Linked DNA regions of Homo sapiens: region 1 is linked to region 2. Evidence: promoter capture Hi-C in 16 types of primary human blood cells and fetal thymus (Javierre and others, 2016). All regions are on one chromosome and are shown on one strand. The core of a region is centred on a gene start or on the middle of the fragment in contact, and the rest is flanking DNA. Distances in the headings are between cores, read along the strand shown.

Region 1 (6,371 bases), core at 1,403-3,902, 910 kb after region 2:
CTGGAACAGAAAAGGAATCAAAGCAGAAGCATAAGAGACCAGAAAGTACCTTTTTCGAACACGTCTCTTTCTCAAGGAGCTGCTCTCCTCTCTCCTTTCTTCTGTCTATTAAGCTTTCCACTCCTTAACCCACCCACATGTCCGTGTCCTAATTCTTTCTCGGCAGGCAACAACAAACCCTAGGGTATACACCCCAGATAGTGTAGCCACTTCATAATGGCAGCTTTGTCCGGGATACCAAGGTACAACATTCATAAGAACGGTAAGGGGAAGAGCGAACTCTAACTCTGTCCTTTCATTCCAAGGTTCTCGGCTTCCATTTTAGACCTTTCATGGAGGACTTAGCTGTCGTGTGGGGCTGGAAGAAGTCCTGGGGCAACTGAGGATTTCTGGCCGGCGCTACCCCCTGGTGTTATCCAAAGGCTTCTGGACCCCAGCCGCCAACCGCCCCAATGCGGTGTCGGCAACAGGATCTCCAACTTTCCTATTGTAATCTCCTCCTCTCCTGTTCGCAACCGTCATATCTCTTATCCTCTCTGTATGAAATGTGTGGGAAGTTTTATGGTTCAGGGAAGTAGTCTTGTTTGGTAAGATCAGGGAATGTCGTAGTAACAAGGCATATAGCTCAAGGGGAAGCGTCTTTGTGATTTTCTAAGAACAGGGCTCCCTGACCCCCCAACAGTGAGAATCTCTCTTTCTCTGCCCTTGGTCTGGAGAGCACATGGCATTTTCCAGGTCTCTCTCTGCCCTTGGTCTAGAGAGTATGTGGTGTTTCAAGGTCAACAGCGCCACCTAGTGAAATAGGAATCCTCTCCATGAAGCACACTGTCAGTCCAATGAAACATCCTAGCCTCCCAATTCTCTTTCCTTTTTGTGCCTCTCTACTAGAAACCAGGCTTTATGCTGGTTCTGTAAATGAGAAAACTCTGCCTTCAACAATTAGGGGTAAAATATTCCTCCAAAGCCAAAATTTAGTCTCAATACTGTCTCATCAGCAGGAAAATGGCCATTCAATCCCTAAGTTTTTTTAAGCCACCTATTCTGCCTTCAATTAGAGTAGTACTTAATTAGTAAGGGAATTTTAAGTTTGGAAGTTAACTGGAACCATTATCTAAGGGTAAATGCTTCAGCACAGGCCATAATAGCAGGATACAGAGTTCAATCTAGCACATCCCCTGCATTAAAGGGGCCTTGCCCAACTATTATGTAGTTTTTCTTGAAATCCATTTTTCAGGAAGCCAGGCAAGTCACACAAGTCTAGGAAGTTAAAGGGAAATCACAGGCAGAGGACTACAGCCACTTGGGTGAGCATGACTAGCCCCAGTGACTTAGTTCCTCTGGTTCCATGACTGGGGGTCACACTTGCAACCATGGGCAGCATGTTCAACAAGGTGCCTGGGACCCAGGAAACACAGGGGGAAAAAAGCAGGGGGGATGCCCCCACTGCTTCCTCTCCACCATGGGTCACACCAAAAGGAAGGAGACTAAAGGGCCACCTTTTTCTCTAAGTGGGTACCATCTTCATCCTGCACTCCCCTGGAGTGCATTCTGAAGCACAAGGATTTCTTTGACCCTGAAACTTTAAAAAGCAGCTCATTTTCTTTTGCACAGGGCATGGCCTTTTTACTAGACCTTTGCAAGCGTTACAGAATTAACCCAGCCCTTTTAGCAATCATATTGAGCAGGCCCAAAGAGAATAATTCCCCAAAATGAGAGAAGCAACTTCTGGGGAAATCATCTGAGGCAGCTATTGGGTGTCCCAGCCCTTCAAGTCCCCCTTATTTAGGGCCACCTCCAACCATACCACCAGTTCTTCCACCTCCACCATCTCCAAAATTTCCCACTCCCCACTTTCACTCTTACCTCTACAGGAAATGCCCAATGGAGGTGATGTCACTAGGGTTCAAGTTCCCTCCTCTTTGCAAGACCTTAGGCAAATAAAGGTGACTGAGGCCAATTTTCTGAAGACCCTGATAGGTATATAGAAGCTTTCCAAAATTTAACTCAGGTGTTTCACCTCTCATGAAGAGATTTTATGTTGCTTCTAAGCCAAACCCTAATTACAGCTGAAGAGCAGGCAGCAAAGAAATTGAAAGATAAGCAACGTTTCCTATAGTAGGCCTAAAACGAAAAGAGAAAATAGGGAAGGCAAAGAAATAAGAGAAACACAATTCCCAATAGGAAGAGAGGCGGTACCTCTTGACAACCCTAACTGGAATCCCCAGACTTTTCTATGGTGTTTTTCCTTCTTTCACAGTGTACAATGGTTCCTATCTCTTCCTGTATAATGTTCCTCCAAAGTAGGAAAAGTTAATTTCCCCAAACCTTAAAATGGTTGACTTAGAGTTGAGCTAATGGGAAGGGAACCCAGAAGCCTGACATGCTGGCAAAAGGGTAAAAGTTTTTTTACCAGTCAACATTTTGGCTTATCTCTTCCTGTGCAAACCAGTAACAAGGATAATAAGGATGATTGTTTATTCTCTGTAAAGTTTTAATTAATAAAAAAGAATTTGTGAGGTTGGTCTTAAGCTGTAACCAATCTGGTGTGCTTTGTGTGTCTTTCTGTAGCGTTCTGTCAAAAGAAAGGGTACCTTAGGTTAGGATGCAGGCCCAGGACCCCATAAGCCTGACTTTGTCTGGGTCCTAGACTCCACACCTGGTATATAATTAAAATCACTTACTAACCAGGTTTTTTACCTAAAGTAAAAGTTGCTGAGAGTTAACAGTGCAACATGTATTTGAGATCTCTAAAGTTTTATATGCAAGGCTTATAAAAACAGTGAAATGTGTTTTTTAGTAAAAGATTATAAGAAAGCATGAAAATATAAATTTTGCCCAGGGATAAGAGATTATCTTAAATTTAATAAGACAGAGCTAAAGGTTTAAGCAAGTTACAGGAAGACAAAAATTAATCTTGCAAAAATGTATAAACATTAACTAAATTCAAAAGGGTATTATATGGTCTTTTCCTAAATTGAGCATTGAAAGAAAAACACGGCAAGGCTGTCTTAAGACACTAATCTGCCGTTTAACAAAAGGGGTTGTAAAGGGTTTGTAAAGACTTCACCCCATGGTCATTGGTTAAGATTAGGTGAACTTTCCTATGAGGTTTTATCAAAAGGTTGTTTACAACTTTAATAAACTAATACAAGGGTAAAATTTGGCTTTAAACAGGATTTTCATGTAATAGTAAAGGATGATGAAAGATTTTTTCCTTTTGTGACATCATTTTGGCAAAATAAATAATGGCAATTTGGAATTCTATTTCATAACATCAAGTGTTTTAAACCTCTAACATTTAAAAGGCATCCCAAAATCAAGCTTCAAGTTTCAAAATTGTCCTTCCTGATGCCTGGCTTTCTGGATTGTTCAGAAGGCCCCTGAAACATCCAGAGAAGAGGTAAACAGGATTATCTGACATGTTTAGTCACATTAGAATTGCCAAAACGATGTCCAATCTTCTTTAAGTTATATTTTGGTGAATAATACTAATATATGTTCCAAAATTGTATGGGATTTCTAAAATTCTAATGTCTAAGTATATACTATCAATCATAATTAAGGTTAACTAAACTTTTTCCGTCATGTTTTTAACTGTAACCTGGAAATTTTGTCATGCACAGACAATTGTTGTTTTGCTTTGTTCCTTCTGAAAAGACAGTTTATAATCAAGCTATATTAAGGACTTTCAACAGGTGTCCTCAAATGCAGGTTTTTAACAGCTTTGAAGATTGTAACATTGGAAGAGAGAAAGAACGTACAGGACTCATGAACTGAAATGTTCACAAATATCAAGCAAAACAAGAATTGACTAAATGGACTACACTCAGAAAGCTAAAGCAATCTTTTTGACTTTTGCTTGGAATATTGCTGATCCTTGGTTTGTTTTTCAGAGTCAAGGAAACTTATTTTGAACTATTTACAGCCTTTAATAATTGAGTAAGGTATACTCCTGTGAACAAAACTTGAAGCATGATTGTTTCTCTCTGCCTGGTTCCTCTAATCTGTGAGAACTCTTAACTTATGGCAATATAGTTGTTTGCATCAGTGAAATAAGAATCCATTTTTCTTTTTCAACAGGACACAAATGGAAAAACTGGCTATTTTATCAAGGCTTTGACTGGAAGTGTATGCTTCCCTTTAAGGAGTCAACCTCCACTTGCAGAGCTGAAAAAGCCCCATGGGAAGAACTGGCCTCATACCTTGTCTACACAGTCCCCGCACAGGGTTCCTAACCTTTGGTCAGTAAAGAATGTCACTTTCTAACAGGTCCAGGAGCTCCAAGTTTATCTTGGGACCTTAAGAGAAAAGGATCACCCAACTCACAGGTATTTGAAGATACAAACCCATGCTGGGCTCAGCTTTAAGAAGTCTTATCTGAGATTTCTTGTGGAACAGAGTTCCATCGAAGCCAATCCAAAAGGACTATGCAGAAATAATTACTCTTGCTGAACTTTATGCAAATAACAAGGCCAAATATAAGACTAAGGTTTATTCTACAAACAACACGGTCCTATCATAATTTGTTTTTACCAAAATCAGGACTAGAGAGAGAAAATATGCTCCAAAGCTTATCATACATTTGTCATTAAATCCTAGTCACATTAATTGTTTTTAAGTTGTGTGCCTACATTTTAGACTAACACTGCTTATTCCTGTGAATCAAGTGGTGATCTCCTGAAGCTTACAAGAAACAAAAAGAGATGGGTAACACAAAAATCTGGATACCTTGGCAAATAAAATTTTAGATGGAAAGTATCTACTACACCACACTTGTGGGAATTGCTATACTCACTCTACTATTTGCAGTAGGGTTATACATGGCAGTGTGTCTGGAATTGGTGGATTCTTGGTCTCATTGACTTCAAGAATGAAGCCACAGACCCTCACAGTGAGTGTTACAGTTCTTCAAGGCGGCATGTCCAGAGTTTGTTCCTTCTGATGTTCGGATGTGTTCGGAGTTTCTTCCTTCTGGTGGGTTCGTGCTCTCGCTGGCTTAGGAGTGAAGCGGCAGACCTTCGCGGTGAGTGTTACAGCTCATAAAGGCAGTGTGGACCCAAAGAGTGAGCAGCAGCAAGATTTATTGCAAAGAGTGAAAGAACAAAGCTCCCGCAGTGTGGAAGGGGACCTGAGCGGGTTGCCATTGCTGGTTCAGGCAGCCTGCTTTTATTCCCTTATCTGGCCCCACCCACATCCTGCTGATTTGGTCCATTTTACAGAGAGCTGATTGGTCTGTTTTGACAGGGTGCTGATTGGTGCGTTTACAATCCCTGAGCTAGATATAAAGATTCTCCAAGTCCCCACCAGATTAGCTAGATACAGAGTGCTGATTGGTGCATTTACAAACCTTGAGCTAGACACAGAGTGCTGACTGGCGTATCTACAATCCCTCAGCTAGACATAAAGGTTCTCCAAGTCACTGCCGTGGGCTCCTGCGTGGCCTGAGCCTCCCTGACGAGCGCCGCTCCCTGCTCCCCAGCGCCTGGTCCCATCAACCGCCCAAGGGCTGAGGAGTGCAGGCGCACAGCGCGGGACTGGCAGGCAGCTCTGCCTGCGGCCCTGGTGCAGGATCCACCAGGTGAAGCCAGCTGGGCTCCTGAGTCTAGTGGGGACTTGGAGAACCTTTATGTCTAGCTAAGGGATTGCAGATACACCAATCAGCACTCTGTGTCTAGCTCAAGGTTTGTGAACAGACCAATCAGCACCCTGTGTCTAGGCTCAGGGTTTGAGGATGCACCAATCGGCACTCTGTATCTAGCTAATCTGGTGGGGACTTGGAGAATCTTTATGTCTAGCTAAGGGATTGTAAATACACCAATCAGCACTCTGTGTCTAGCTCAAGGTTTGTAAATGTACCAATCCACACCCTGTGTCTAGCTCAAGGTTTGTAAATGCACCAATCAGCACTCTGTATCTAGCTCAGGGTTTGTAAATATACCAATCAGTACTCTGTATCTAGCTAATCTAGGGGGGACTTGGAGAACTTTTGTGTCGAGCTCAGGGATTGTACACGCACCAATCAGCACCCTGTAAAATGGACCAATCAGCAGGATGTGGGTGGGGCCAGATAAGGGAATAAAAGCAGGCTGCCCCAACCAGCAGTGGCAACCGGCTCAGGTCCCCTTCCACACTGCGGGAGCTTTGTTCTTTCGCTCTTTGCAATAAATCTTGTTGCTGCTCACTCTTTGGGTCCACACTGCCTTTATGAGCTGTAACACTCACTGCGAAGGTCTGCAGCTTCACTCCTGAAGCCAGCGAGAGCACGAACCCACCAGAAGGAAGAAACTCCGAACACATCCGAAAATCAGAAGGAACAAACTCCACACACGCCGCCTTTAAGAACTGTAACACTCACCGTGAGGGTCCGTGGC
Region 2 (7,054 bases), core at 1-2,500:
AAAAAAAAAAAATTGGCCAGGTGTGGTGGCGGGCGCCTGAAGTCCCAGCTACTTGGGAGGCTGAGGCAGGAGAATGGCATGAACCAGGGAGGCAGAGCTTGCAGTGAGCCAAGATCACGCCACTGCACTCCAGCCAGGGCAACAAAGAGAGACTCAGTCTCCAAAAAAAAAAAAAAAGAAAAAAAAACTTAGAAATTCTTTGCTCAAGTATCACTTCCTCCAGGAAGTCTTCCTGACCCTCTCCCAGACCCCACCCACCCTCCATCCAGTTGGCTGCTCCAGGTTGTGTGGTGGGGGGAATTTCACAGCACTTTGTGTTAAGCGCTGACTTATCCCTTGTATAATACTTTCATTGACTGTAGTCCCTAATACTGGACTGAGCTCCTTGAGCGCAGAGACTGTGAGTCTTACCTGTTTTGGCATTCCTAGACACACCTGGTCTGTGGAAAGTGCTCACTAAATGTGAATATAAACTAATGAATAAATGGGTTTCTACAGCAGTTTATACTGCATCACACAGTTCCTCTAATGAATTTCTAGCCCCCTTCCCTGTTGGGGCATACAGTATTTTATTCAGTATTTCTCCTGAAGGCCTCTCTGTGCCAAGCTCAGTTTTAACCAAAACATTGGTGATCTGGTTAAGTCATTACTGAATTATCCACTACGTTGAATTCTCCCAACCACCCCGTCCCAGCCCTTAGCTTGGCCGAAGGAAAATTAATTGGTTGCAAAGTGCGTATCTAATTACAACAGCCAGCCCCCGACACAGAGATGCTCAAATGTTAATTATAACATATGCATCTCAATAACCGACGGTGGCATTTAGTGCAGCATTAATCACGCCACTTGGGCCCCCCAGTGCATACACAAAGCTCCTTTTCATCTGCCATTAGCACAGACTTTGCACTTTCGGCACGGACGTTCTCATCCTTAAAGCCTTTCGGACTCTAAAACCAACGTTTCCCTGTAAGCCTGGACTGCGCCTAAGCCCCCAGTTCTCCCACCGCAGAGGCCCCCACCCAGGGCTGCGCCAGCGCCGTGGGGTCGCTGGGCGGCGGGTTTTGGCGTCGCTAGACTGGGCTGTCTTGGCAGCTAAGGCGACATCCCGAGCGTCCTGGGGCCACCCTGCTCTCCAGGGCCCGCCATCCTGGAAAAGAAAGGCGAACTACATTACCCAGCAGGCCTCCAGCCGCCCTCTTTCCTTTCAAGTCTTTGCACGTGGCCGGAGGGGAGGGCGGGGCCTGAACGTCACTCTCCTACATTCTCTTTCCCTGTGTCAGATCAGGGATCATTTTTTTTCCTTCCTCTACTCCCTCCCCCCTACCCGCCCCTCCCTCCCTGTTTCCCTTCCCTCCCTCCCTCCCCTCTCTGCTGGGTCTGTGCGCTGGGGCGCCCGATCCCCTCCGCAGCTGGGACGCTCCGAACTCGAGGCAGGAGTCGGCTCTCCGGAGCCTCGTCCCTCCCTTCCCCTTCCCTGCCCCCTTCCCCCACCCCCGACTCGGGCTTGGCGCGGCGGCCAGAGGAACCCCGAGGTGAGCATCTCCTCGCCCGTCCTCCTCTTATAGTCATCTCAGCTTGCTGATCGATTCGGGGACCCGGGAGGAGGGCTGCGTGACGTGGGCGTGCTTATAGATAAATCCGGGAAAACCGCCCCAAACAATCAGCCCCCTTCCCCCCATCCCTGCTCCTGGGCCAGCGGGGTGTCCGCACCCATCTACCATCCCCTCCTCCCCCTCGGTGGGGAACTGCACTCCACAGTGTCGCCCCCTCCCTGGGTTTGTCCCATTCCCTGCCGGGTTCCCCGCCCCGCGGGGTGTCGTGGCCCTGGAGCTCCGGCGCCAAGGGGGGCTCTTGGGGGACGCACGGCTGGAGCCCGGCTCGCTTTGGAGCTGCGCGGTGTAGCCGCTGTCATGTGCCGGGTTCCGACCTGGGAGGAGGAAAAGAGCGAGCGCGATTCCTCTCCCTTTTGTTTTGAAGCCCGCATTTGCTGCATCGAGCAGTTGGTTTAGTATCAGCCAAACTTGCAGCTGTTCAGACCGCGCTCCGCCGAGGTAGGGAGCCCGTCTCGGGGTGGCGTTTGGGGGCCGGGGGCTGCGGCACTCGGGGCTGCGGGAGGGACCCCGAGAGTGTGTCGCCACGCCGCCCCTCCCTTCCCCGGTGACTGATTGTGTCTGTGGCAGCGGGCGTGTGTGAGTGTGCGCGCCCGTCCCCGCGGGCTCGGGGATGTCTGTGGATGGCTGTCGTCTAGACAGGGCGCAGCCCCCTCCCTGCGTCCCCGGTGAGCCCGCGGGCCGCGGGGGGAGCGGGGGATGGGAGCAGAGGAAGAAACCAAATCGGTGGACCCGTTGCGGTCTCCCCTTTGGTTATTCCCAACGGTTGTGGTTCTGTTGGCTTTTTTTATTATTCCTGTCGCTGCGGTGCAATCGGGCCTGGGGAATAGATACGCCCGGCGGAGAGGGGTTCACTTGACAGGCTCTGAAAAGCCACCTCTGGGTGGCGAGTGACCCGAGAGGCCGTGGGGTGGGCTCCGGCTCGGGTTCATCAGGACGACGAGCAGGTAACTGTCCCGGGCGCCGGTCATGGGGGAGGGCGGGCGGGGGGGCGATGGCTTGGGCTGCGGCGAAGGTCTGGGGCCTCGGAGGGCCGCGTGCCGGTGCCTGGATGTGGCCGGAGGGGGCGTCCGGGACACCGCGCGCCTGAGCCGAGTGTTTCTCTATTGATGGTAAAAGACAATCGGGAGGGGGGTGGTCCGAGCCCGTTATCTGGGCGGCGTTGGCTCTGTTTGGTTCCGCGGAGTTTTCAGGGTTGGGGCTGGGGGGTGTGAGCACCGCGGGGTGTGCGGCGTGTAGAGGGGAGGGCTGACTGGCGGCGCCGCGTGCGTCTCCACCCCGAGGAGTGAGGCGTCGCCTCCCCCGCCCGGCTGTTTGTGTGTACACACGGCTCCGGTGTGTGTGGGGGGCGGGGACCGCAGACCGCGGCGTAGTGGGGACAAGCGTGGGCCCCGATCCTCCGCGCGACCTGTCCCGCCAGCCCCCTCCTTGTCTAAGTCGGGGTCGTGTGTCCCCGCGCGCGCGCGCCCGAGTTACTTGGAGAGGGGACCGTGCGGCTGTGGGCCGGGGAAGACCGTAGGGTCGCGTGTGCTGGTCTTCGGTGCAGGAGTCCCAGGTCCGCTGTGCGGCCGGAGTCACACAGCCCCTCCCTCCGCGTCCGCGACGCCCCGTGACCCGGCAGACTGGGGGTCCACCCGGCGGCGCGGGGGGTTGGTTTGGCTGCGCCGCCCCCAGTCCACGCTGGGGTGACCCCGCACCGAGGCGTTCTATGGGTGTGCGTGCCCGCGCTCGCCGCCGCTGCCTTCGCAGACCGGGGAGAGAGTCAGCGACTGCCAACCGCAGCCCCGGCTCTTCAGTCTGGGGACAGTGGGAGCCCAAGCCCAGCGCGCCCCAGCCCGGCCCAGGCCGCCGCCCGCCCGGCGCTGTGTCTCTGCGGCCCGAGGATTATCCCCCAGTCCAGGGGCCCGCGCGACCAAGGAGGAAGCCGCTGGAGCCGCCGGCTCGGCCGCGGCTAGAGCCTCCGTAGGGCGAAAGTGACACAGCGCGAGAGAGCGCCGCCGCTGCTGGAGCCAGGGCCGAGAGGAAGGAGCCGCCCAGAGCGCAGGGAGGGGCCGCCGGCTGTCCGTTCCCAGTTCCTCCTGCCCAGGGCCCGATCTGGGCTGAAAACCTCAGGAATCCAGGCTCCTAGCAGGCTCGGGCTGCGCGAGGAGATGGCCTGGCTTTCAAGAAAACCCAATTATACGTGAACAGAATGCACCGAACAGACGCTAGAGGATGGCCAGGACACGCTCAGGTTGTCTGGGGAAACTCCTGAGTGTTTGACACAGGATTCGATTTACACACAGATCACCTCATCTGTGTCAAGTATCTGTCCTGGATAATGGATGCTCAGAGGCAGCAATTTTGTAACACATTCTAGGGCACAGTGTCATCAGTGATTAACAGCTTGCTAGAATAATAATATGTTTGTATGACCTTACAGGGCAGGTTTTCTTCCCCCAGAACCTCCCCCCTCCCCCGCCAGATATCATAGCATTTATTAAGAGGGTCCTGTGAGGTAGGAGAGTATTAGCCCCATTTTACGGATGAACACACTGAGGCTCAAAAATGTGGCTTGCATAAGGCCTCTGGGTGGGGGAAGGGCCACATTCCCCCTTTTCTCAGCTTATGGCATTTAATTAATAGTGGCCACTTTTTTTCTGAGTATGGATTCTTGACACCTCAGGAAATACTGAAGCTAAAAAATAGAGTATATTATGCTGACACATATTCTTTCTCAAAACACTCTTGATTTGTTAACCATTCCTAATGAGAGCAGCCACTAAAGAACGGAAGTCTGCATTGCTGTTATTACCACGCATTTAATAATTTGCTGTTGGTGAATGGATAGCAGCTGTGATACATCCAGTTTCTACCAGAATCATATGTGCATATAATAAATGTATATGGTATGCCTGTTCATGTAACACTTACCTGTGTTTGTATGGCTGTGTTCATTGAGTCTTTATTGAATTCAAGGAGCAAAGAACTTATACATGCCTGCATGGATTTCTCAGAATTCATGCATGTGAAGGCTGTCAGACAGCCTGGAGGGTTATTAAGTTTAGCCAACTAATCAATTAATTAACCATTCACTCAATATGTACTGGGCACCTACATGTTTGTGTATCTAGAAGTGCATACAAAGAAAACTTAACAAATGTTAATTAAGTCCAGCAAATGTTTATGAAGCACCAGCCTCACTTAGGCCAGATACTCTGCTTCTCTACAAAGATAGTAGAGCAGAGATAGTTAAGTTGCAATGCAATAACACAGCCTACAGGAGGGAACAAATCATAAATATTTTAGAGCAGTCACCCTGGAACTTAGTTTCACATATGTTGGTTTCAAGGGGCCCAAGATGCCAGTTCTTATTCTAGAGCAAATGCAGAAGGAAGCGATGGGGAAAAAACACCTTGATAGCCTTGTTACCCTGAACTTCAGGCTGTTTGCAACCTCCCGGGAGGGCCCAGAGGTATGTTCTTCTGTGGAAGTTAGGCAGCTGATGGAAATTACCCTGAAGCCAACCAACAGGTTTCTGGCGACACGGAGCTAAGGAGATGTTCTCCGTGGTCCCGCCCCAGCTCAGATGTGCTGTGACTCAGGGACAGGCTGTGGCTTTGGTCAAGGTCTCACTCAGGCCCTGCCTGGGTGTAGGAGTTTCTGCCTTACAGGTCTGTGTAGGTGTGTTAATACAAGTCTGCTTTTTATCTAATCCCAAACTCACCGTCTGGTCCCAGATATTGTCCTCTAATTTCATTTCTGTTTTGGGCTCCATTGCCCTTGTTTTAAGGTTATGTTGTTTGCAGCTCAGGTCATGAAGGAGGAGGCAGGAGATGGGTGGTTAGGTTGGAGAGAGAATCCTGAGCCCAGATAGAGAACAGGAGGTACAAACATGCAGGCAAATTGCAGTTTCTGAGAATTCTCCACACGTGGTGGCATTTCTGCATAACTTACCTGATAACACAGCCCCATTTGATGTCCTTGGCTTGGCAGGGGGAGGGGGCGTCTACCTCTGGGCCTCACTGCTGACTCACCGGCACCCTGAGCTCAGCTGCTTCCTTTCAGGTTTGGGTTTTCTTTTGCCCCTGCCTCCCGCTGTGTGCGGTTTAATTTAGAACCTTGCTATAATGGTGGCCTTCTCCCTGTGTTAGCACCGTGCTCTCAGCATGCCTCTGACTTTGGAATTAAGGCCAGAGCTGTGGTTCACAACGGGGTGAGAACAGACACATCCTTGGATCTCCGGCACCCAGAGCTGGGGAGGACTTTGAAGATGATCTGATCTTCACGTGAAGACCTGAAGCCTAGGGAAGTGGAATGACTTGCCTAAGGTCATGGTGAGCCCTTAGCAGAGTGGGTAAAAAATCCTGGAATTTGAGATTTCATCCAATCTTCTTTCTATGTACCGTAATGCTTTCTGGAAAAAAGTTAGGTTCTTCCCAAAGAGTGAGAACTCTTTATCTTCTTCTCTCCTGTCTTCTGGTTCTGGGAAGGGCTCTGAAATTCATTTGACTTCTCTTTCCTTCACAACTGGCCCTTCCTGCCTTATCTTCATCTTTGGCATTCATGAGCAAATGAAGGTCTGTATTTGGGAAATATAGGGTGTCTTGGTGTCCTACAGTGCTCTTAAGCTTGGTCTGTGGCTTTCTGGCCCTGAGGCAGGGTCCTCAGGAACCTTTTGGAAGTGTTTGCAAAGCTGGGATGCGTGTGTACTTTTCTAGGAAGAGAATCTACAGATTTCATTTGATTCTCAACTGACTCAAGTAAGGACAAAACTACTGGTAGGGAGAAGGACAGAAAGGTTGGATAGTGGTTGGTTGACACTGGGGCTACTTTAATACGCTGCACTTGATTTGGCTTTACAGTTTGCAAACTATTTCACACAAATTATCCCATCTGCCTTTTATAATAGGTGGTTATCGTTATCAGCCTGTGAGGCAGTTGTTGTTATACCCATTTTGCAGAGCAGGAAGCTGAGCCTTCATGGTTAGTGGCATGCCCAAGTCACGAGTAAGCAGTAGAGCAGGGATATGAACCCTGACTTCAGACTTCAGGTCCAGTGCTCAGGGCTGAGGTGGCTTGCTGTCTGACATCATTATGATGAACAGAAAGCCTTGAACTTCCCAGAGCTTCTTAATGCCTACTGTTCACTCATATTCGGCCACAGAGCCAGACCCAAATGCTCACTTACCCAAGGGGTAGGGGAGATAAAGTATGGGAGGCAGTTACCATAGCAACGATCTGTAGAGTGGAGCCAGTTTGGGATGGTTTCATGGATGAGGTGAATTTGGGAGTAGGCCTGGGTAATGGTGGAGGAGGTTTTAGGCTGGGGCAATGGCCCAAAAATGGTTAGGGGGCAACTAGGTGCTTGGGGTGGGTAGAACAGACCTAAGAGGTTTACTTGATCATCCTGCAGTCGGTGCGAGCTTCACAGTAGTTGTCGGGCTGCTTTTCTATGCCTGTCT

What was found. Contacts are between HindIII fragments. The CHiCAGO score rates a contact against its expected background, and 5 or more counts as called.
Region 1: a contact is called between a fragment that was not itself captured here and the fragment with the promoter of CTIF in region 2, in 1 of 17 cell types (erythroblasts). The highest score is 6.5, in erythroblasts.

The regions. Positions count from the first base shown.
Region 1 is chr18:49,447,224-49,453,594 of GRCh38, forward strand. The region is part of intron 1 of DYM (dymeclin); the gene reads right to left. Among named protein-coding and RNA genes, the nearest start is that of DYM, 10 kb to the right of the region's middle. The HindIII fragment of the contact is 1,333 bases long and covers 1,987-3,319 here.
Region 2 is chr18:48,537,781-48,544,834 of GRCh38, forward strand. It overlaps CTIF (cap binding complex dependent translation initiation factor), which reads left to right and starts at 1,251. Exons shown (of 12, transcript NM_014772.3): 1 at 1,251-1,532. RefSeq lists silencers at 1,357-1,436, 1,937-2,296, 2,727-2,816, 3,137-3,616 and enhancers at 4,771-5,547, 5,548-6,322, 6,841-7,054. The HindIII fragment of the contact is 7,178 bases long and covers 1-6,218 here.